2 separate regions of the Homo sapiens genome follow, and region 2 is linked to region 1. The links are contacts of gene promoters, found by promoter capture Hi-C in blood cells and fetal thymus (Javierre and others, 2016). All regions are on one chromosome and are shown on one strand. The core of a region is centred on a gene start or on the middle of the fragment in contact, and the rest is flanking DNA. Distances in the headings are between cores, read along the strand shown. Region 1 holds the start of LINC01088 (long intergenic non-protein coding RNA 1088). Region 2 has its middle 38 kb from the start of BMP3.

What was found. Contacts are between HindIII fragments. The CHiCAGO score rates a contact against its expected background, and 5 or more counts as called.
Region 2: a fragment that was not itself captured here is called in contact with the fragment with the promoter of LINC01088 in region 1 in 1 of 17 cell types (M0 macrophages); the score reaches 5.1 in M0 macrophages.

The regions. Positions count from the first base shown.
Region 1 is chr4:78,969,141-78,973,580 of GRCh38, forward strand. LINC01088 (long intergenic non-protein coding RNA 1088) reads left to right here and starts at 2,608. Exons shown (of 6, transcript NR_038342.1): 1 at 2,608-2,736; 2 at 3,860-3,912. The HindIII fragment of the contact is 4,785 bases long and covers 426-4,440 here.
Region 2 is chr4:80,990,953-80,995,392 of GRCh38, forward strand. No RefSeq gene overlaps it. Among named protein-coding and RNA genes, the nearest start is that of BMP3, 38 kb to the right of the region's middle. The HindIII fragment of the contact is 1,962 bases long and covers 951-2,912 here.

The sequences.
Region 1 (4,440 bases), core at 1,358-3,857:
AGTTGCTATTGTTTCTTGCCACTGAGCTAAAAAATAGTTGCTGTTGACTATTTTAGGTTCTTTGCATTTTCATATGTGTTTTGTCAATTTCTACAAAAGTCCTCCTGGGATTTTGATTGGAATTTGCTGGAATCTGTAGAATAATTTGGGAAGAAATGACATCTTTAAAATATTGAGTAATATTTTATATATTACTGGCTAATTAATATATCTATTTATTTTGTTTTTTCTTTATTTTTTCTCAACAATGTTTTAAGATTTCTGTTTATAGGTTTTCCACATCTTTTATGTACATTATCCCTATTTTATATATTTTTATGTTATCATTAGCGACATTTAAAACATTCAATTTCCAATAACTTGTTGCTAGTATATAGAAATTCAGTTGATTTTATATGCCAATCTTGTATCCCGAAATCTTGCTAAGCTTACTTATTAGTACAAGTAGCTTTGATTCTCGATTCCATCACATTTCTATACAAATGATCATATTGTCTGTGAATAAAGACAGTTTTATTTCTTCTTTTCTGATTTCTGTGCTTATTTATTTTTCTTTTCTTTTTTTATTGTACTAGCTGAAACTTCCAGGACAAAGTTGAATAGAAGTGTTGAGAGTAAAAATTCTTGTCTTGTTCTGGTCTTTTATCTTTCAGTATAATACATTTTCATAGGTGCTTTTTTTTGGTTGAGAAAATTCTCTTCAGTTTCTTTTTCACTGAGTCGTTTTATGAGGAATGGATGTTGGATTTTGCCAAATGGTTTGTTGTGCCTATTTTATGTGCCTATTATGTACATGTTGAATAATTTCTTTTTTCTTTTTTTTTTTTTTTTGAGACGGAGTCTCGTTCTGTCACCCAGGCTGGAGTGCAGTGGCATTATCTAGGCTCACTGCACACTCCACCTCCTGGGTTCATGCCATTCTCCTGCCTCAGCCTCCCGAGTAGCTGGGACTACAGGCGCCTGCCACCAGGCCTGGCTAATTTTTTGTATTTTTAGTAGAGATGGGGTTTCACCATGTTAGCCAGGATGGTCTCGAAATCCTGACCTTGTGATCCGCCTGCCTCAGCCTCCCAAAGTGCTGGGATTACAGGCGTGAGCCACCGCGCCCGGCCCTGAAGAATTTCTTTTAGCATTTCTTGTGTAGGTCTCCTGGAAAAAAAATCTGATTTGGGGAGAAGGGTATGAAAATGTCTTTATTTTTCATTTTTGTAGGATATAGGACTATGCTACAATTTTATGTAGAATCTATTTAGAATCCTATACAGAATTCCAGACTAACATGTTTCACTTTCAGCTCTTTAAAGATGTCATTCCATTGTTTTGGAGTAATTGTTTCTGAAGAGAAATTAGACATAATTTTTATCATTTTTTTCTTCCGTGTAATGTTTCTTTTTTCTCTGACTGCTTTTAAGATTTTTGTATCATCTTTGGCTATCAACAGAGTGAGTATGGTGTGCCTAGTTCTGTTTTTGTGTTTATCCTCTTTTGGGGTTACTATGATTCCTGATGCTGAGGTTTGATATTTTTAATCAATTTTGAGAAATTCTTGGCCATTATGTTTTCAAGGATTTCTTCTGACTCATTTTCTATCTCTCACAGATGCAATTACATATTTACTAGGCTACTTAATATTGTCCTAGAGATCATAGACTCAAGTTTTTCACTCATTCCCCCTTTTATTTATTTATTTATTTTTGGATAATTGACCTGTCCTCAGGTTTACTTCTGCTTTTTGCTGCTGCTAATAGGCTACTGTTGTGTTTTATGGCCTGTTAGACTCCTAATATGTATTCTCTTTTGATGACAGTGTATTTTAAAAACAAATTTTGACATTGCAGTTTGGTTTCTTTTCATACTTTTCATTACTCTGCTGAAATTCTCTATATATTCATGCATGCTCTCTACCTTTTCCACTGAATTATTTGACATATTTATCATAGTTATGCTGAAGTTACTCCCTGATAAATCTAACGTCTGTGCTTTCTAGAGTCTCAGCCTGTTGACTGTTTTCTCATTTGATTATTGCTCACATTTTTTCTCTTTGTGGGTCTCAAAATTTTTTACTCTATGTTGGATATTGTGAGAAAAATAGTAGAGATTGAGAAAATTAATATTTATTTACCCTAAAAAAGTGCATACTTTTTTTGTTAGACCTTTTCTTGGGAAAGTTGAGGAAATCTGTTGTATATTTGAGGTATGTGGGATTATTTCAGCTTTAGTTGGATTAGTTTACCACTGACTTCAAATGTTTTGAAAACAGAATAAGGTCTTTTCTATCACTAGGGCTTGTGATCTGAGCACTGGCAAGATTTCAGAGATCTCTGTGTGCTCCCAGACTGTTTTGGTTGCTAGGGAGTTCTTTTTCCTTTCCTGTTTCTGACTTTATTAATCTCAGGAGGTCTCTCTTCTTTTTGCTCTGCTGCTTCAAGCCTTTGGCATCCAGTGCCTTGTACTTAATGAAAGTTTGCAACACTCTGAGCAACTGTTCTCAGTTCTTCTGCCTTATTTCTGGCCTCCGTTGCAACTGTTTTGACCTAGTGAAGGCCTAGACTTTCTCAGACAGATTTCTTTTAACTCTTCTGCCCTGACTCCAGTCTTCACTGGGATGCTGCCTTGCACTTAGGGAAGGTTCACATGCCTCAAGGATCTCTCTCTCTCAGATTTCTTGACTTTCCCTCAGTCTTCAGTATAGTCCTCCTCTGTGCCTGGTGAAGACCTGTGGTAAAGTGCTGGCAGGTGAGTACAGCTTGATGGTGTGGATGGGTTCCTTGGGACTCCAGCATGTCAAGCTAGTTCACACACAGGTCTTAATAGTTGTCTAAGATTCATGTAGTTCCTCATTTTCTTTTCTGTGGTAGATTCTGTTTCCTGCTGCACCACCAGGGATGAAAAAATTCACTGGTCTCTTCTTTTATAGAACGGGATCATAACTATACAGATTTTAGTTAAGTTAGCTTTATTAGTATTCTCAGCTTTTTTAATGGGATAAAAAGCAATGATATTATGGATTATCTGACTTTTCCTTTAGTATTAGGTTTGCCCAATCATCTCCATGATTTCTAAATTCCAAACTTCTTGAATAAATAAAATTTAAAAGAAAACATTGTACTAAAGTCAAAAGAAGGGTTTTAAGGCATAGTTCTACTTTTTACTGTCCATGTATCCTTGGATAAACTACTTCTCTGAAATTGTATTGCTTGCTTTTTCAGCTTGTTGAGTCTTTCATAAATTTAAGGGTTGGAATATGTCTCTCAGACAGAAATTGATAGAGCTTTGCAAGTCTTCAGATGTATTCAAGTTTGGTAAACACTGGGTTAGGCCATGGATAAAAGATTGGTCTTTGTGTGTTCATAAGAAAACCTGGATAGGAAGCTCTTCTTCTTACAGAAAGCCTCGATTGAGAAGTAAAGCTGGGACTATTAGTCCGTGTTCTGCAGTGAAATAATGGTAGCCATGCATAGATTGATTTAAGATCTATGCATGTTAAGATACCTGTCTTAACACAGGTAATAGTCACATCAGGGAAAAGAGCAACAGGCAGAACTCTTGGCTTTGTGTAAGAGCCCAAGGAAAGGGCCTGAGAGAGTACACACTGTATCAAAGTGTAGTGTTAATGTGAGGTGTCGGGAAAAAGGTCTTGGGTGTGTGTGTGTCTGCATAATATATGTGTGGAAAACTCTCAGTGCTGGTCCTTTGAGATATGTCTGTGAAAACTCTTTCAATTAACAAAAATAACCAACATTAATTGAATACTTTTTATGTGCCAGTCACTGTTCCAAGTTCTCTACAAAAGGTAATTCTTTAGTCCTTATAGTAATACTGTAGTGGTGCTGATACTATTTTTATCTTCATTTTTCAGAGAGGAAGCTAAATCACGTAAAAATTAAGAAACAGCTCAGCGTTTCACAGCTAGTAAGTAACAGAGATGGGCTTGAGACCCAGATTGGCAGGATCCAGGTCTTGTGCTCATGACGACTCTGCTATGGTGCCTCCCTTGAAAGCATCTTAGTGCTTTCATTGTTGTTTTTGTTATTGTTATTCTTACTATTATTTTGTACCCCCTTGGTGGATAGTGGCTGTGAATTTGTAGTTGTTGGTGTGTTTCTTCTGGAGCGTAAGCTCCTTCCTCCTCTATTGTTAGCCAGAGTTTTTGTTACCTTTGAAATAATTGCTAAATCAACAAAACATCTGTTACATTGCTGCTGCTCGAATGGCTATCTTTTAGAATTAGCACTCTTCTTTCTGAATCTGATGCCACAGCCTTTTGAACTTAAGGTATTTGGATGTGTCAGTAAAGGGGCTGTGGTAGCTGTGGTGACAGCAACTCCAATGGTGGTGACCGTAGAGAATGTGGCAGAGCTGTGAATGAGATGAAGAGATTTAGTGATGGCAGAGGAAACTTTGGGATTTCACAACTTTCTTCCTCCAAAAACTATTTGA
Region 2 (4,440 bases), core at 682-3,181, 2.0 Mb after region 1:
GGGAACTCCTGATGCATACCAGGCGACTGTTCTTCAGCAAAGAAAACAAAAACCCAGGTGCAGAATGTATTGCAACAGTGCAGATGGGTCTTCAAGGGTGTTCACTGTTTACAAGAAAGAGGAACAGAGCTCTCATCATTGAGTGACCACTCTTCCTGGGGATCTATTTCCCCCAGCTGGCCTCAAGCAGAATATTCCCCCAAAGGCCCAAGCACCAGCTGTCAATGACCTCTGCCCCTTCAAAGAGAGAGACTGGGTGGCCGCTTTCACCCTGTCAAGATGTGCTAATTACTGGAATGCTGAGAATCAGAGCCTGCATCCTACAATGGTATTTCTATAGCTTGTCCACCTCCTACACATCTTTCTCCTCTTGTTCTTAAATCTTTTAAATATACAACAGCTTACATCAATTTCTCTATAGATTGTTGGCATCTTTTCTATCCAGTTATATGTTCTCAGCTCCCATATTTTATATTTTATATTTTATAAAAGGATCTTGTATACTTTATATTTTGTCAAATTATTTAAAATTTCCCTTTCTTTAGGCAAGGCAATCTTCAATTAAAAATCCCTTCATTTAAGAGCAATTTGGAAAGAGAGAAAAGCCCTCTTGATATCTACTCTATGCCAGAGGCATGTCCATCCATAGACATGGCTTGATCTAATTATCATCATAAACCTAGAAGAGAACATTATTATTCACAGTTGCCAGGTATGGAAACTGAGGCTAAGGGAGGCTGATACTCTTTATATATGACTCTGCAATCCTTCCTCTCCCAATTCGTAGTTTACACTGCCTAATTATTCTTCCTAAAATGTACCTCTGATTATTTCATACTCTAGCATCCTTTTCTTGTCTGGTAAAGGAAGTACAAACTCCTCTGTTGGCCTTTTAAGGTGTAGTCTTTGTCTGCTCTTCCAACTGTGCCTCAAACTTCTCACTGACACAAAGCTTTTCAGCTATATCCCAGGTTTCTGCCCTTTCTCTAGCAATTCGGTCCTCTCTGACCCATCTGTCTTACTCTTTAGTCTTGCCCTTCTCACAGGGATATCTTAGCATATTCCGCAGATCAGCACATAGATCATCTTCCTCACGAAAACTTTCTTCCACCTTTAATATGTGTGAAAACTATTATAATTTTTGCATTGAACTTTTAACTCTTAACACTGTTCATTAAAGATAATATTGAACAATCTAGGCTCACACTGAAAATCATCATCAAAATGCAATATAATAATTATCTTCATGGGACACTGTACTAGACATCATGTAAGAAAAATTCAAGAAAAGTGACGGAACTTCTGAATTCTTCAGAGTAGTGTCAAAAGATAGAGAGAAAAAAAGAACTGAGCCAGATAAAATATCATAAAGTACAGAGATTGTAATATGAAATTGAGTTTCTAAGTAAAATTTTATTGTCATTTGTTTTATTTTATTTAAAAGCATAAAAATCAAAGGTTTTCAGATGCAAATATTCTATAGGGATGGCTGAAGTAAGGAAAATATATACTGCATCCCTACAATTGGCAAAATCCTACTTATTATCTCATTTCATACATAAGCAAAGAGGTAATAAATGTTTAATAACAATCTCTGAAAAGAAAAAAAACCCTGATTTGAAGTCTTTGCCAATTTCTGTAGTGTAAATATTTTCACTACTAATATTTCTATTTAAAGCTACGAATGTGGCATCTCTGATCATGGAGTTAGAAGAGATGTTCACACCTGCCTCTCACACTCTGGTACAACGTCCCTCAAGCACACTTCTATAAAAACTAATTATTTTCCCTATTAAGCAGATTAAGGAAGTGAGAATCAGAGACGTTTTATAACTTGCACAAGATCACACAGTCAATATACAGAAAAGAGGTGATTTTAGTCTGCTATGTAAGATTACAGATTCCACTCTTTTTGGCTAGAGCGCACGCCTGATCTCTATCAGCAAGTTACTGAATTAAGCAAATTGAACATAGACATCCCTCAATACCCTCTTGTTTCTACCAGGAGTAGAGAAACAGAACAACAAGGAATAATCACATAGTGGACAGGGCCTCAATAAAAGACTTCAATGGGGAAGAAATCTCTAGTAGCATAGAGTGTTGATTCTCAGGAACATAAAACAAAAGATGAGCATAAATTGAGCTTTTGCCTTTTCTCATGAGCTTCCTCTATTTACCTAAGCCTCTTACTTTTATAGAAACCCATTACTTTCTGTTGGCTCTTAACCTAGCCACACAATGAATTTCTCCTTATAGTCAGTATTTTTCCTCCCTCTCTCCCTATTTCCTTTCCTTCCTTTTTTCTACATTCGTTTTTTCCTTCTTCCCTTTCCTTTTTTCTTGTTTCTTTCTGCTGATACCATTTTATTGTTGTTCTTTAATTATCAAGGGTCAGAAATACATATACTATTTCCCAATGTTACACACCCAACATAACTCATCCGGAATTGTCAGGAAGGTAGTTAGCTCCAATAGAATATTAAAAAGTGGTCACAGGTCAGGCATGGTGGCTCATGCCTGTAATCCCAGTGTTTTAGGAGCCCAACACCAACACAGGAAGATTGCTTGAGGCCGAGAGTTTGAGACCAGCCGGGGCAATGTAAAAAGACACTGTCTTGACAAAAAGAAAAAAAAAGTGATCACAGAATCAGGGTCTACTAATTAAGTACATAAATATGTATTGTGAGGGTCAAATAGATTTATCCAGAGGAATATAAAACACTCCTATTAAAAGTTTGGAATGCAAAATTAACTTCTGGGATAAAAAGCTGAATTTTGGTTTTCTCTGTGTACAAACCAAGGTTAAAGTGTAAATGTTTCTGCACATAACTCAGATTCCAATATCATACAGAGGAAGAAGAATAAGTACTATAAAGAGTGGACAAAGTACACTTCCTCTTATTCCCATAATAAGCTTGCCCAATACATTGTTAAAAATGAAATTAATTTCTAACTTAGCCTTTATAATAAGAAGGATCAAGACCAATTCTATGGTAGTTGACATTGCATATCAAGTAAAATATAAAACAACTCATGACGAAAAGAGCTGCTCCAGTTAAAATAAATGAGGGTTTTAAAAAGTCACATACTCAAGAGTCACTTTGTAGCCCTTAGTTTTTTTGTCTAAAGTATTCCCAGGAGCAGATTGGTCCTTCTCCCACCCACCAGCACCCTCTCTCATCCCCCATTTTTCAAGTCATTTGTCAGCACACAGCGGTATCCAAGGTGCCTGGACTCTGTCAGGTTTTCATCTGGAAAGCAAAGCAAAGCCGTCTGAAGCCACTCACACATTGATCTCCTACCAGTGAACAGAATCCAACTTACATGAAACCTGCCACTCCTGAACCATGCTTACAATAGAGCACTCTGAGCAGCTGTGACCCCTCTATCTAGAGCACCATGTCAAAAATGCATAAAAGGAGTAACAGAAGAGAGAAGAAACAGAAATGGAGACCAGTTCATGAGCACCTCCAGGACTCAGTTTCTTTATCATTACGTTAGACAAGATCTGGTTCAGATTTTTTTTTATATATACTTTAAGTTTTAGGGTACATGTGCACAATGTGCAGGTTAGTTACATATGTATATATGTGCCATGCTGGTGTGCTGCACCCATTAACTCATCATTTAGCATTAGGTATATCTCCCAATGCTATCCCTCCCCCCTCCCCCCTCCCCACACCCCACAACAGTCCCCAGAGTGTGGTATTCCCCTTCCTGTGTCCATCTGTTCTCATTGTTCAATTCCCATCTATGAGTGAGAATATGCAGTGTTTGGTTTTTTGTTCTTGCGATAGTTTACTGAGAATGATGATTTCCAATTTCATCCATGTCCCTACAAAGGACATGAACTCATCATTTTTTATGGCTGCATAGTATTCCATGGTGTATATGTGCCACATTTTCTTAATCCAGTCTACCATTATTGGACATTTTGGTTGGTTCCAAGTCCTGGCTATTGTGAATAATGCCGCAATAAACATACATGTGCATGTGTCTTTATAGCAGCATGATTTATAGTCCTTTGGGTATATACCCAGTAATGGGATGGCTGGGTCAAATGGTATTTCTAGTTCTAGATCCCTGAGGAATCGCCACACTGACTTCCACAATGGTTGAACTAGTTTACAGTCCCACCAACAGTGTAAAAGTGTTCCTATTTCTCCACATCCTCTCTAGCACCTGTTGTTTCCTGACTTTTTAATGATTGCCATTCTAACTGGTGTGAGATGGTATCTCATTGTGGTTTTGATTTGCATTTCTCTGATGGCCAGTGATGATGAGCATTTTTTTCATGTGTCTTTTGGCTGCATAAATGTCTTCTTTTGAGAAGCACCTGTTCATATCCTTTGCCCACTTTTTGATGGGGTTGTTTGTTTTTTTCTTGTAAATTTGTTTGAGTTCAGTGTAGATTCTGGATATTAGCCCTTTGTCAGATGA